5 separate regions of the Homo sapiens genome follow, and regions 1, 2, 3 and 5 are each linked to region 4. The links are contacts of gene promoters, found by promoter capture Hi-C in blood cells and fetal thymus (Javierre and others, 2016). All regions are on one chromosome and are shown on one strand. Each heading gives the region's core, a stretch centred on a gene start or on the middle of the fragment in contact. The rest is flanking DNA. Distances are from core to core; before and after follow the strand shown.

What was found. The method cuts DNA at HindIII sites, captures the fragments that hold promoters and counts their contacts. A CHiCAGO score of 5 or more calls a contact.
Region 1: a contact is called between a fragment that was not itself captured here and the fragment with the promoter of FOS in region 4, in 1 of 17 cell types (monocytes). The highest score is 5.5, in monocytes.
Region 2: a contact is called between a fragment that was not itself captured here and the fragment with the promoter of FOS in region 4, in 1 of 17 cell types (activated CD4 T cells). The highest score is 6.5, in activated CD4 T cells.
Region 3: a fragment that was not itself captured here is called in contact with the fragment with the promoter of FOS in region 4 in 1 of 17 cell types (M2 macrophages); the score reaches 5.1 in M2 macrophages.
Region 5: a contact is called between a fragment that was not itself captured here and the fragment with the promoter of FOS in region 4, in 1 of 17 cell types (activated CD4 T cells). The highest score is 11.4, in activated CD4 T cells.

The regions. Positions count from the first base shown.
Region 1 is chr14:75,611,063-75,613,762 of GRCh38, forward strand. The region is part of intron 1 of FLVCR2 (FLVCR choline and putative heme transporter 2); the gene reads left to right. It also overlaps the pseudogene RNA5SP387. Among named protein-coding and RNA genes, the nearest start is that of FLVCR2-AS1, 33 kb to the left of the region's middle. The HindIII fragment of the contact is 1,616 bases long and covers 611-2,226 here.
Region 2 is chr14:75,569,885-75,572,584 of GRCh38, forward strand. No RefSeq gene overlaps it. Among named protein-coding and RNA genes, the nearest start is that of FLVCR2, 7.4 kb to the right of the region's middle. The HindIII fragment of the contact is 1,245 bases long and covers 799-2,043 here.
Region 3 is chr14:75,591,572-75,594,271 of GRCh38, forward strand. The region is part of intron 1 of FLVCR2 (FLVCR choline and putative heme transporter 2); the gene reads left to right. Among named protein-coding and RNA genes, the nearest start is that of FLVCR2-AS1, 13 kb to the left of the region's middle. The HindIII fragment of the contact is 2,694 bases long and covers 1-2,691 here.
Region 4 is chr14:75,277,391-75,280,090 of GRCh38, forward strand. FOS (Fos proto-oncogene, AP-1 transcription factor subunit) reads left to right here and starts at 1,438. Exons shown (of 4, transcript NM_005252.4): 1 at 1,438-1,733; 2 at 2,487-2,700. The coding sequence starts at 1,593. RefSeq lists silencers at 1-111, 840-929, 1,280-1,339 and enhancers at 1,428-2,355, 1,710-1,769, 2,356-2,700. The HindIII fragment of the contact is 6,704 bases long and covers 1-2,700 here.
Region 5 is chr14:75,551,445-75,554,144 of GRCh38, forward strand. No RefSeq gene overlaps it. Among named protein-coding and RNA genes, the nearest start is that of FLVCR2, 26 kb to the right of the region's middle. The HindIII fragment of the contact is 4,651 bases long and covers 1-2,700 here.

The sequences.
Region 1 (2,700 bases), core at 169-2,668, 330 kb after region 4:
TGAGTCAATGTCCCTGTCCTCAAGGTACTAACAGTTTAGTTTGGGAGACAACACACTACACAAAAAGAAACAAAACTAAGCATGACATAAAAACAAGAAACCTGTAAAGTGTAACTGTGGCAAAGAAACCAAACTGTAGCTGGAGACACCTCTCACCCTTGCTTCCTCCGACAGCTACACATTTGGGGACATTTGAACTACAGAATGGAGCATATGAGACTGGAGGGAGTGTCGGGTGTGAGGGCAGTCACTTTTCTGTGGCATTCACCTTGTCCGTTGAGGGCTTTGGAATCAGATAGCCAAGGGTATGAATCTCAGTTTTGCCAGGAGAAGCTGTTTTGACCTTGGGCAAATTATAGAGGCTTTCTCATCTGTAAAAACCAAACCAGAGGCCAAGGCACAGTGGCTCATGCCTGTAATCCCAGCGCTTTGGGAGGCCGAGGCAGGTGAATTGCTTGAGCCCAGGAGTTCGAGACCAACCTGGGCAACATGGTGAAACCCCGTCTCTCCTAAAAATACAAAAAATTAGCCAGGTGTGTTGGGCGCATGTCTGTGGTCGCAGCTACTTGGGAGGCCGAGGTGAGAGGATTGCTTGAGCCAGGGAAGTAGAAGCTTCAGTGAGCCGAGATCGCACCACTGCACTAGCCTGGGCAACAGAGTGAGACCCTGTCTCACAAACAAACAAACAAACAAACAAAAAAACCCACAAACAAAACCCAAACCAGAGATGATGGTGCCAACTTCAGGGGGTAGTTGTGAGGGCATAGATGAAATATCATGTGAAAAAGCCTTTAGCATGCTGTCTAACACATAGCAGACACTCAGTACATATTCACCTCCTTCCTCCTGGTTTGAGTAACATTTAAGACCAGCGCCTTTAACCTAATGGATAAGAGTACAGATGAGTACTGATGGCCAGAGCTTGAAGTTTAGCCTCATCGCTTACTGTTATGTGACCTTGGGCAAGCTACTTAAATGCCAATTTCCTCCACTTTAAAATAGACATTAGGGGAGCACGCCTTCTATTTTATGGAGTGAAGTGTTGCCCCCCAAAAGAAAAAAATTAATAATTAAAAAATAAAATGATTCAAAGAGTATATATATTTATAGGGTGCTTTGAGCACAGTGTATCAGCTCTCATCGCTATTATTATCTTCCCTAGGGATCAATGATTGTAGGCTATCCTAATTTCAGTAGCTGCTGCTTCCTGCATTTCTCTAACCTCTTTCACCCAAAGAACTGAGGGAATCCAGGAGTCAGGGCAGTAAAAGCCACCAGCATAATCACAGCTTTCAGGACAAACCCTGTGACGGGGGCGGGAGCTTGAAGGAAGTCTGGAGTTGGCCAGCTGTAACCCTACTCCCTAAGTTCTTAGAGATCTTAGCTTAGCCTTTAAATCCATAAACCCCCTTCCTGAGTGATTTTCCACCAAATCAATGAGGTTGTTTAGATTGTCTTTGTCTTTGAAGGCCTGCTACCTCCTTGATCCCGAGTTGACCTTTTCAAAAGAAGCCTTGGATTTGGAGATTTCACAAATAACAGTCATATGAGCGGTCTTTGCCTGGACATTATCGGTTACCGTGGAGCCGCCTGGCATTCCTGGGTGCTCGGGGCTCATTCTCATGATTAAGCTCAAGCTCTGGGTTCTTAGTTTTGCAGTGTCTCTCAGCCCCAGCAGCCACCTTGGACTCTCCTTGCTTCTTTCTGGGGCATCCGCAGACTCAGTCCCAAGACCCCCTGCCAAACCTCGACTACATGTCCCAAGGTAGCTTGCCTGGCAGAGTGCCTTCACTCTAGCCTGGTCTCCTCCACTTGAGGTCTTGGAGCCCTTGTTTATTCTCCATGTTGCTAGATCAGTTATTCACTAGCAGGTATAAGCAAACATCTAAATGATGCTGGCCAAGGGGTAGAGAGCAGTATTTATAGCAACAGAATTATGGACTGGAGTGTGCAGACTTGCCTAAATAGTACCAACTTTGTGGTGTTTCAATGCACACAGCACTGTGTGGGCATGGGCAATGAGTGTGGAAGTCACTTCCACATAATTCCCCAGGTGGACATGGTCCTGGGAGATGGAGCTTGTGTTAGTCCATTTTGGATTGCTATAAAGGAATATCTGAGGCTGGGTGATATATAAAGAAAAGAGGTTTAATTGGCTCATGGTTCTGCAGGCTGTACAGGAAGCATGGTGCCAGCATCTGCTTGACTTCTGGCGGGGCCTTAGGAAGCTTCCAATCATGGTGAAAGGCAATGATGGAGCTAGGGTGTCACATGGCAAGAGTAGGAGCAAGAGAGAGTGAGGGGGAAGATGCCACACAGGTTTAAACAACCAGATCTTAGGAGAATTCATTATTGCAAGGAGAGCACCAAGGGAATGATGATGGCACTAAACCATTCATGAGAAATCTGCCCCCCTGACCCAATCACCTCCCACCAGGCCCCACCTCCGACACTGGAGATTACAATTCAACATGAGATTTCTTTTTCTTTTTCTTTTTTCTTTTTTTGAGATGGAGTCTTGCTCTGTTGCCCAGGCTGGAGTGCAGTGGCACATCTTGGCCCACTGCAACCTCTGCCTCCCGGGTTCAAGCGATTCTCCTGCCTCAGCCTCTCGAGTAGCTGGGATTACAGGTGCACATCACCATGCCCAGCTAATTTTTGTATTTTTAGTAGAGATAGGGTTTCACCAGGTTGGCCAGG
Region 2 (2,700 bases), core at 171-2,670, 290 kb after region 4:
AGAAAAGCCCTCAATAAGGCCCGTGCAATCTGGCTGCTGCCTCTCTCTCCAACCACGTTGGCTTTGCTTCTCACCCTCACTCTGCTCCAGCCTCATTGGCTTTGTGGCTTAAAAGGGCCCTGCTCCCTCCTGGTTCAGGGCCTTGCACATTCTGTTCCCTCTTCCTGGAAAGCCCTTCCCCCCTCTTTCACCAAGTTAAGTCTCACTTTTATTTTATTTTTATTTTTATTTTTTGAGATGGAGTCACTCTGTCACCCAGGCTGGAGTGCAGTGGCATGCTCTTGGCTCACTGCAACCTCTGCCTCCCAGGTTCAAGCGATCCTCCTGCCTCAGCCTCCAAAGTAGCTGGGACTACAGGCACCTGCCACCATGCATGGCTAATTTTTTTTGTATTTTTAGTAGAGACCGAGTTTCACCATGTTGGCCAGGCTGGTCTCGAACTCCTGGCCTCAGGTGATCCAGCCCCCTCAGTCTCCCAAAGTCCTGGGATTACAAGCATGAGCCATAAGTCTAACTTTTTAAAAACGTATTGCTTAAGATCCCACTCATCTGTTCCATCTATATAAATTCTTACAAATAACCCTCATAGCACTTATAATTTTACTTATGTGTGTATGTAAGTGTTTGATTGATGTTTGTCCTCTCAAGGACACTGTAAGCTCCATGAAGGTAGGGAGGGACCACGTTTGTTTTGCTCACTCCTAGGATCTTCAGCACCTGCCACAGGGCCTGGCTAAGTCTCATCTATCCCTCAAGATCCCGACCTAGCATCTCTCTGAGAAGCCCCCCTTGACTCTAAGCTTTGGGAGTCCCATGAACCAGCATGGACCACACATTTATTGTACCACCTGGCAATGATCTGCTCACATAACTGTCTCACCACTACTTTGTGGATTCTTGGAGGGCAAGAGCCTCATCTTTGTTGAATTTGTTTCCTTTACACCCAGCACAGTGCCTGGCCTGCAGGAGATCAATGGTGGGTAAATGAATGACTCTGTTAAGACAGTCCCCTGGGCCCAGGTATTATACCCTGTACATCAAGGGGCTGGCTGAGATGACTTTGTGTGTCCTTTCTCTGTCACTGTGGCTCCAGCATTGCATAACCCTGCCCAGCCAGCACCCCTCTGCTTTGTCATGCCATGTGCCTTTAACTGTTGCCCTGGCAATCAACAAATCTTGCTGCTACCCCCGTTTCTCTATTCCATTATGAAAAGGGAGCCTCACACCTCCGGGCTTTCTATAGATTATGCAAAAAGACAAGCCATTTTAATGTCTCCTTCCTCTTTGACTCATGTTTTTTAGTTAGCTCTTTCTCATATTTATGGGGCAACTTTTTTTTTTGGTTTTCTAATTATTAAGAAGCATTTAAAATATAGAACAGGTATGAAGAATAACACAGTGGCCACCCATGATCACACCCAAGGACATGCAGCTGAGGATACAAAATGTGACCCACGTACAGGGACCTTGTCTTTAGAGGAGGATTGATACCATCTGAGGCCTTTCCAGATGTACTCATGTACTTCCAGGGAACTGAAATGTCTATTTCAAACCATGTGTCCCGGGCAGAGCCCAGCATCTACATGTCCAGCTAGGAGGCCTTTCTTCTAGACTCTCGTCTGAGAAAAATGGATCTTCTTCTTCTCTGAATCCTCAGCAGCCCCTGAGCACATTCCCTTCTAGGACAGACTTGGAGACTCTGAGCTGGGAGGGCCCTGGAGGAGAAGAAATCTAGACTCCCCCATGGCACAGGAATGCCCTCCCAACTTTCCCACCCATGGGCTCTGTGAGGTGTGGCAGTGGGGCCCAAACACCACAGGGGACACATTCCAGAAAAGAGAAAGGAAGACACAATCAACCAAGGAGATATGAGCATCCGGAACAAGCTGGACATGTTTTTATTTCTTGTGAGGCCACCTAGAAATAGGACTCATCTAGGAAATGCATCCAAAAAGTCAATGCAGTCAGGCCTTCATTTTCCTTCTGCGGGCCAGACGCGACACTAGAGGTTGGGATTTGAAGATGAATAGGCCATCATTTCTAAGCTTGAGGAGCGCACACTGAGTCGTTAACTTGAAGAAGTAAACAAACATTTATGAAACTGTGTGACAGGAGCTACCACAAAGCTGCACATGCAGGGATGGAAAGAAATCTCTGAGTCACACTTAGGGCATGGGGGAAGGCTTCCTGGAGGAGGGGACGCTTGCCCTGCATTGTGAAGCACGCTTATGGGGAGCTGCAGGTGGCTCCACCTGTCTGGAGCAAAAGGTGGGGAGTGGACAGTGGTGGGAGATGTGGCCAGAACAACATCACAAAGACCTTGTGTGCAGAGCTGAGGAGTGCTTGCCTCTAGTGGCAGATTCCTGGTTTCCTCAGCCTTAACCTCTCACCCTCTCTAGGTTTCCTTCCTTGTTTTGGTGGCCACTGGAGGGTTCAAGGCAGGGAGTGACCTGAAGAGAACTGGAAAATCCTGTGAGGCGACATCCGGCTGAACTGGAAGGAGCGAGAACAACGAGGAGGCAGCCGTGGGTTGGAGGTGAGAAGCCAGGAGAGGCTGCAGCAGGGTGGTGGCAGTGAGAAAGGACAGGAGGGAAGACTGTAAGGAAAGAAGCATCTGTGACACTGAGAGTGAGTGAAGGGGGATCTGGGGAATCCTTAGTCTTCAGGCTTGGCTCACTGGGAGCTAGTGGTGCGCTTTGT
Region 3 (2,700 bases), core at 95-2,594, 310 kb after region 4:
TTAGCCAGGCTGAGGTCACATGCTGCCAGTGACTTTAGCATTTTGGGGTCCTTGCGGTGGCCCTACTCTTGTGGCTCCACTAGGCATTGTCCTAGTGAAGACTCTTTGCAGAAGAGTCCTCTGCTGTGGCCTCACATTTCTGCTTGGCATTGTCTTAGCAGAGGCTGTCTGTGGTGGCTCCCCCACATGGCAGGTTTCTGCCTAGGCTCCCAGGCTCTCTTTTTCTCTTCATTCCTTTTTTTTTTTTTTTTTTTTTTTTTGACAAAGGGTCTTACTCTGTCACCCAGGCTGGAGTGCAGTGGTGTGATCACAGCTCACTGTACCTTGACCTCTGAGGCTCAATCAATCTTCCAGCCTCAGCCTCCCAAGTAGCTGGGACTACAGGCATGCACCACTGCACCTGGTTAATTTTGTTTCTTTTTTGTTTTTGTTTTTGTTTTGTAGAGATGAGGTCTTGCCATTTTGCCCAGGCTGTTCTTGAACTCCTGAACTCAAGTGATCCACCCACCTCATCCTCCTAAAGAGTTGGGATTTCAAGCATGAGCCACTGTGCCTGGCCTGCTCCCAGGCTTGCTGATACATCATCTGAAATCTAGGTGGAAGCTGCCATGCCCACCACTCTTGCATTCCACATGCATGAACAATAGTACCATGTGGACATGGATGCCACCAAGACCCACAGCTTGCACTCTCCAGAGCAGTGGCCCAAGCTGTACCTGGGGCTATTGGGCCATGGCTGCTCTGGCCAGAGCAGCTAGGAGAAGCATCCTGAGGTGGCTCAGGGCAGTGGTATCCCACCATTCTGTCCTCCTAGGCCTCTGGGTCTGTGACAGGAGGAATGGCCTTAGACTTTTGAAATACTTTCAGGGCCTTTTTTCCATTGTTCTGTTAGTACCTGGCTCCCTTCTGTCAGAACTAATCTCTTTAGCAAAAGGTCCCTTGGCTGCACCCTTAGATTCCTCTTCTGAAAATGTTCTTTCATTCTCTACCACTTGGCCAGGCTGCAAATTTTCTAAATTTTAATGCTCTGCTTCTTACACATTTCACCTTTAGGTCACTCCTTTGCTGTGTTTAAGCTGTCAAAGTAACCACACTGTGTCTTGAGCATTTTGCTGCTTAGAAATTTTTCTGCCTAGGCCGGGCATGGTGGCTCATGCCTGTAATCACAGCACTTTGGGAGGCCGAGGTGGGCGGATCACCTGAGGTCAGGAGTTCGAGACTAGCCTGGCCAACATGGTGAAACCCCACCTTTAAAAAGAAAAAAAAAAAGAAATTTCTCCTGCCAGATGCCCTAGGTTATCATTTTTAAGTTTGGTATTTTATAAAGCCCTAAGGCATGGACACAATGCAGCCAAGTTCTTTGCTGTGGCATAACATGGGTGACCTTTGTTCTAGTTTCCAAATAAACGCTACTTTCCTTCATCAGAATGGCCTTTACTGTCCATATTTCTATCAGCATTTTGGTCATAACCATCTAACCAATCTCTGAGAAGTTCCAAACGTTCCCTCATCTTTTTGTCTTTTTCTGAGCCCTCATCAAAATTACTCTTAATGCCCTGTTCACAGCAATTCAGGTGTTTTCTAGCCTATTTCTTCAAACTCCTCCAACTTCTGCCCGTTACCCAGTTCCAAAGCTGCTTCTGCATTTTTAGGTATCTTTATGGCACAACCCCACTCCTTGGTACAAATTGTCTGTCTTAGATCATTTTGTGTTGTTATAACAGAATACCTGAAACTGGGTCATTTATAAAGAAAAGGTGTATTTACCTCACTGTTCTGTAGGCTGGGACATTCAAGGGCGTGCCTGCAGCCTGCAGGGGGTTGTAGCTCTCATGCTACATTATAACATGACAGAGAAGGTTAAAGGGCAAGTGGACACGTGCAAAGAGGCAAACCCAAGGGATCTCTTGGCTTTAAAACAACCCACTATCATGGGAACTCACCCATTTCTGCAGGAACTAATCTAGTCTTGCGAGAGTGAGAATCTGCTTCCATGAGATCAGCTGGTGGAGGATCCTCCCCCATGATCCAAATGCCTCCCACTAAGCCTCACCTCCCAACACCACCCCATTGGGGATAAAATTTCAACATAAGTTTAAGAGGGGACAAACTCAGATCATATCCGAACCATAGCACTTGTCCTCAAGGCCCCAGCCTGCTTAGACAATCTCTGAAATGTCTTCAGGGTTTTTCTCTCATTGTCTTGATGAATAGGCCTGGTTGCCTTCTGTCTACTAATTTTTTTAGCAAATGATTTCTTGGCCACGCCCTTGGTTTTTCTCCTACGGACACTTTTTCAGTCTACATGGCCAGCCTTCAGATTTCCCAAATCTTTCTGCTCTGCTTTCTTTTTCATTACTAATTCCACCTTTTAGTCATTTCTCTCCTCTCATGTTTTACTATATGTGCTTCAAAGTAGCAATACAGCTCCTTCAATATTTTGCTTAGAAATTTCTTTCACCAGATATCCTAGTTCATCACTCTTAAGTTCTGTCTTCCACAAATTCCTAAGACACTGACAGAATTCTGCCAAGTTCTTTGCAAGTAGATAACAAGAATGGCTTTTACTCCAGTTTCCAATACCTTGTTCCTCATTTCCATCTGACACCTCATCAGAATGGTCTTTACTGTCTATAACTGTCTATATTTCTACCAACATTCTGATTAGGACCACCTAAGTAATCCCTGAGAAGCTTTAGG
Region 4 (2,700 bases), core at 188-2,687:
CGACCCCCGGGCCCGAAGAGTGGAGAAGGGAAGACCGGGGCTGTGCGGGGACATGCGTCTTCGCGCCCTGGAGGTGGCCAGCGCGCTGGGGCTGAGCCCCGGCAGCGTGACCCCGGCTGTCCTACGCAGCAGGGCAGGAGATTGGGGGGCGTGGCACACTCTGGAGCACCTTGCCTCCCCAAAGCCCCGTGTTCCAGGACGTGGAGCCGCTCCTGGGGTCCCAGCAGTCGAGGTATTCCGCCCAGGCGCAGCTGGACACTGTCCTTCCAGCCCCCGTCCTCCACCCTCCAAGTCCGCGCTGGAAAATCACCCGCTGCGGGCTCCCGTAAGCACAGCTTCCTGGCGGGACCGAACCAGCCCTCAGCGCAGATTTGAGTTCCCCGCAGGAAGCACACCCCGCCTTGTCATCCCGAACTGACCACCCTGCCCACATAACCACACCTCGCACTCCCTACCCCTGGGGCCCAGCTCAGAACCGGGCAGACACCCCCTTCAAATGTCTTCGCACGTAGGTTTTGCACAGTGTTTATCTGCTGGTGTCTCAGGGATTTGACAGTTTCCTTAATATTCCCACACATGGCCGAGAAAAATAAATAAATAAATGCGCTGTCTTCTTTAAAAAAATAAATAAATAAAGTACCCAGTATCGTAAAGTAGGTTATCGTATTCTCTTATTTTGGATCCTCCACTTTCTGCTTCCAAACGCAGGAACAGTGCTAGTATTGCTCGAGCCCGAGGGCTGGAGGTTAGGGGATGAAGGTCTGCTTCCACGCTTTGCACTGAATTAGGGCTAGAATTGGGGATGGGGGTAGGGGCGCATTCCTTCGGGAGCCGAGGCTTAAGTCCTCGGGGTCCTGTACTCGATGCCGTTTCTCCTATCTCTGAGCCTCAGAACTGTCTTCAGTTTCCGTACAAGGGTAAAAAGGCGCTCTCTGCCCCATCCCCCCCGACCTCGGGAACAAGGGTCCGCATTGAACCAGGTGCGAATGTTCTCTCTCATTCTGCGCCGTTCCCGCCTCCCCTCCCCCAGCCGCGGCCCCCGCCTCCCCCCGCACTGCACCCTCGGTGTTGGCTGCAGCCCGCGAGCAGTTCCCGTCAATCCCTCCCCCCTTACACAGGATGTCCATATTAGGACATCTGCGTCAGCAGGTTTCCACGGCCTTTCCCTGTAGCCCTGGGGGGAGCCATCCCCGAAACCCCTCATCTTGGGGGGCCCACGAGACCTCTGAGACAGGAACTGCGAAATGCTCACGAGATTAGGACACGCGCCAAGGCGGGGGCAGGGAGCTGCGAGCGCTGGGGACGCAGCCGGGCGGCCGCAGAAGCGCCCAGGCCCGCGCGCCACCCCTCTGGCGCCACCGTGGTTGAGCCCGTGACGTTTACACTCATTCATAAAACGCTTGTTATAAAAGCAGTGGCTGCGGCGCCTCGTACTCCAACCGCATCTGCAGCGAGCATCTGAGAAGCCAAGACTGAGCCGGCGGCCGCGGCGCAGCGAACGAGCAGTGACCGTGCTCCTACCCAGCTCTGCTCCACAGCGCCCACCTGTCTCCGCCCCTCGGCCCCTCGCCCGGCTTTGCCTAACCGCCACGATGATGTTCTCGGGCTTCAACGCAGACTACGAGGCGTCATCCTCCCGCTGCAGCAGCGCGTCCCCGGCCGGGGATAGCCTCTCTTACTACCACTCACCCGCAGACTCCTTCTCCAGCATGGGCTCGCCTGTCAACGCGCAGGTAAGGCTGGCTTCCCGTCGCCGCGGGGCCGGGGGCTTGGGGTCGCGGAGGAGGAGACACCGGGCGGGACGCTCCAGTAGATGAGTAGGGGGCTCCCTTGTGCCTGGAGGGAGGCTGCCGTGGCCGGAGCGGTGCCGGCTCGGGGGCTCGGGACTTGCTCTGAGCGCACGCACGCTTGCCATAGTAAGAATTGGTTCCCCCTTCGGGAGGCAGGTTCGTTCTGAGCAACCTCTGGTCTGCACTCCAGGACGGATCTCTGACATTAGCTGGAGCAGACGTGTCCCAAGCACAAACTCGCTAACTAGAGCCTGGCTTCTCCGGGGAGGTGGCAGAAAGCGGCAATCCCCCCTCCCCCGGCAGCCTGGAGCACGGAGGAGGGATGAGGGAGGAGGGTGCAGCGGGCGGGTGTGTAAGGCAGTTTCATTGATAAAAAGCGAGTTCATTCTGGAGACTCCGGAGCGGCGCCTGCGTCAGCGCAGACGTCAGGGATATTTATAACAAACCCCCTTTCAAGCAAGTGATGCTGAAGGGATAACGGGAACGCAGCGGCAGGATGGAAGAGACAGGCACTGCGCTGCGGAATGCCTGGGAGGAAAAGGGGGAGACCTTTCATCCAGGATGAGGGACATTTAAGATGAAATGTCCGTGGCAGGATCGTTTCTCTTCACTGCTGCATGCGGCACTGGGAACTCGCCCCACCTGTGTCCGGAACCTGCTCGCTCACGTCGGCTTTCCCCTTCTGTTTTGTTCTAGGACTTCTGCACGGACCTGGCCGTCTCCAGTGCCAACTTCATTCCCACGGTCACTGCCATCTCGACCAGTCCGGACCTGCAGTGGCTGGTGCAGCCCGCCCTCGTCTCCTCCGTGGCCCCATCGCAGACCAGAGCCCCTCACCCTTTCGGAGTCCCCGCCCCCTCCGCTGGGGCTTACTCCAGGGCTGGCGTTGTGAAGACCATGACAGGAGGCC
Region 5 (2,700 bases), core at 113-2,612, 270 kb after region 4:
ACGGGGAAGGAGGTGAGACTACTGGATGCCCCACTTCTCTTGGGGACAGATAGGCTATCTCTATTTCTCTTCCTTCTTCCCCACGGGTTCAGTGCTCCAAAGCTGCTTGGGAATTCCAAGGGGGAGAAAGGGCTAGTGAACTAAGATCAACACCAACGTAGTAAAGATTTAATACTCGTTTCTGCCAGAGGAGACTGTCATTTTAAGAGACACCTAGGAGCTCAAGGCTATAGTGAGCTATGATTGCATCACTGCACTCCAACCTGGGCAACAAAGCGAGATGCAAAACCCTGTCTCTAAAACAAAAAAGAGAGATGCCTAGAGAAAGTAACACTTGACCCAAAGGAAAGAGTTTTTATGGTAGCATTTTAGGCTTTGTAGCAAGTGAGCAGAGGAGATATTTAATGGAATTCTTGCCATGGGAATGACATGTGACTGCATTGGCCTCATGTAGATACCAGAGGAGTGGGAGATGGGGATGGGAGGGAAAGAGAGATGTAGCCCTTCTAAAACTCTTGTGGGTTTGTGTGTGTGTGTGTGTTTTTTTTTTTTGACTGAGTCCCACTCTGTTGCCCAAGCTGGAGTGCAGTGGTGCGATCTCGGCTCACTGCAACCTCCACCGCCCGGATTCAAGCAATTCTCCTGTCTCAGCCTCCTGAGTTGCTGGGATTACAAGCATGCGCCACCACGCCCAGATAATTTTTTTTTTTTTTTTTTTTTTTTTTTTTTGTGGAGATGGTGTTTCACCATATTGGTTAGGCTGGTCTTGAAAAATCTTGTTTTTTAACCACCTGATATGTGATTTAATTTAATCACTTATAGGAAGATAAAATAAAAACCTGATCCTGGTTTGAACAATCTACTGGTAGGTAGAGATGAAGAGCCCCCTTTTAGAGGACTTCAATAGGAAAATTTGCACAAATACCTTTGCTACCCAGGAGGTTTCTTTGGCTTCCTCTGGAAGATTCCTGTAGACAGATTGCTGAGTTTGTCATTACACCTAGAAACCAAGGCTAGGAGGGGTAGCTGAGACTGATAATTGCCCTCCCAAAGCTATTCTTCCATTTTTCCTTACTACGGAACTCTTGTTTTGTCTAAGATGGCAATATGCCTAGAGAAAAGATTACATATCCCAGATTCCTTTGATGTTTGGGATGGCCATATGGCACAGTTCTGGCCAAAGAGATATGCAAGAATTTGCTAGGTAAGACTTTTATGGGAAAGCTCTTCAAAAGGTGGGGCTGTCTCAGTTGGCACATGCCTTTCTCCTCCTTTCTGTCTGGAAGGCAGATATGGTGTTAGAGGTGAAGCAACCGTGTACACAAAGGAGGAAGAGATTCTGCGTCCCTGGTAATACTGCAGAAGTGTGAAGATGATAGAAGCTCCAGCTGGCCCACTTCTAGACGGCTTCTAAGTGAAAGTGGAAAAGAGTTTATTTGGTTACATCACCTTGAGTTGGGTTTTCTAAGTGCAGCTTAACTCAATTCTGTCTAATGCAGGAGCCAATGGAACAACCAAATAAGGAATTTAAACAATTCCCCTAGCTCAGTGGTTCCTAACTGGGGGTGATCCTCCCCATTCCCCAAGATATTTGACAATGTCTGGAGATATTTTTAGTTGTTACAGCTTGGGAGAGAGGTACTAGTAACATCTAGTGGGAAGAGGCCAGAAATGTTGTTGCTAAGCATGCTGCAATGCACAGGGCACACCCCACAAACAATAATCCAGCTCAAAACATCAGTAGTACAGAGGTGGAGCACCCCTGCAGCTGGCCCTACTGCTTCTAGGGCACCAGCCCATCAGGCCACCAACCTACCCTGACACGCTTGTCCATCCCTTTCTCAGAAACAAACCCTGTGTATTGACCAGGCTGAAAAAGCCACGTCCTTCACCGTATCTGGCACTTTCCTCTCTCTAAGCCTTTGCTCATGCATCATTTCCTCTGCCTAGAATCTCCCTCTCATCTTCTCAGGTGGGGACCATGACTCTTCATTTTTTTTTTTTTTTTTTTTTTGAGATGGAGTCTTGCTCTTGTCACCCAGGCTGGAGTGCCGTGACGCAATCTTGGCTCTCGGCTCACTGCAACCTACACTTCACAGGTTCAAGTAATTCTCCTGCCTCAGTCTCCTGAGTAGTTGGGACTACAGGTGTCTGCCACCACACCCAGCTTTGCTTTGTGTTGGGAACATTCAAAATCCTCTCTTCTAGCTATTTGAAAACATACAATAAGTTATTGTTAACTGTAGTCACCCATCAGTGCTAAGACACTAGGACTTATTCCTCTCATTTAGCTGTAATTTGGTATTCTTTAACCATCCTCTCATTATGTCGTCCTCATCTCTGCCCTGCCTTTCCAGCCTCTAGTAACCACTATTCCACACTTTACTTCTATGAGTTCAACTTCTTTAGCTTCTGCATGTGAGTGAGAACATGTGGTGTTTATCTTTCTGTGTCTGGCTTATTTCACTTAACATAATGTCCTCCAGGCTCATCTATGTTGCTGCAAATGACAGGATTTCATTCTTTTTTATGGCTAAATAATATCGCATTGTGTATATGTACCACATTTTATCTGTTCATCTGTTGGTGGATGCTTGGGTTGATTCCATATAGTACTTTGCATTGTTGCTTTTTAATGTGCATAGAAGATAAGGAATACAGGAGTAAAAGAGTTTGGAGGCAAAAACTCAAACTGTGTTT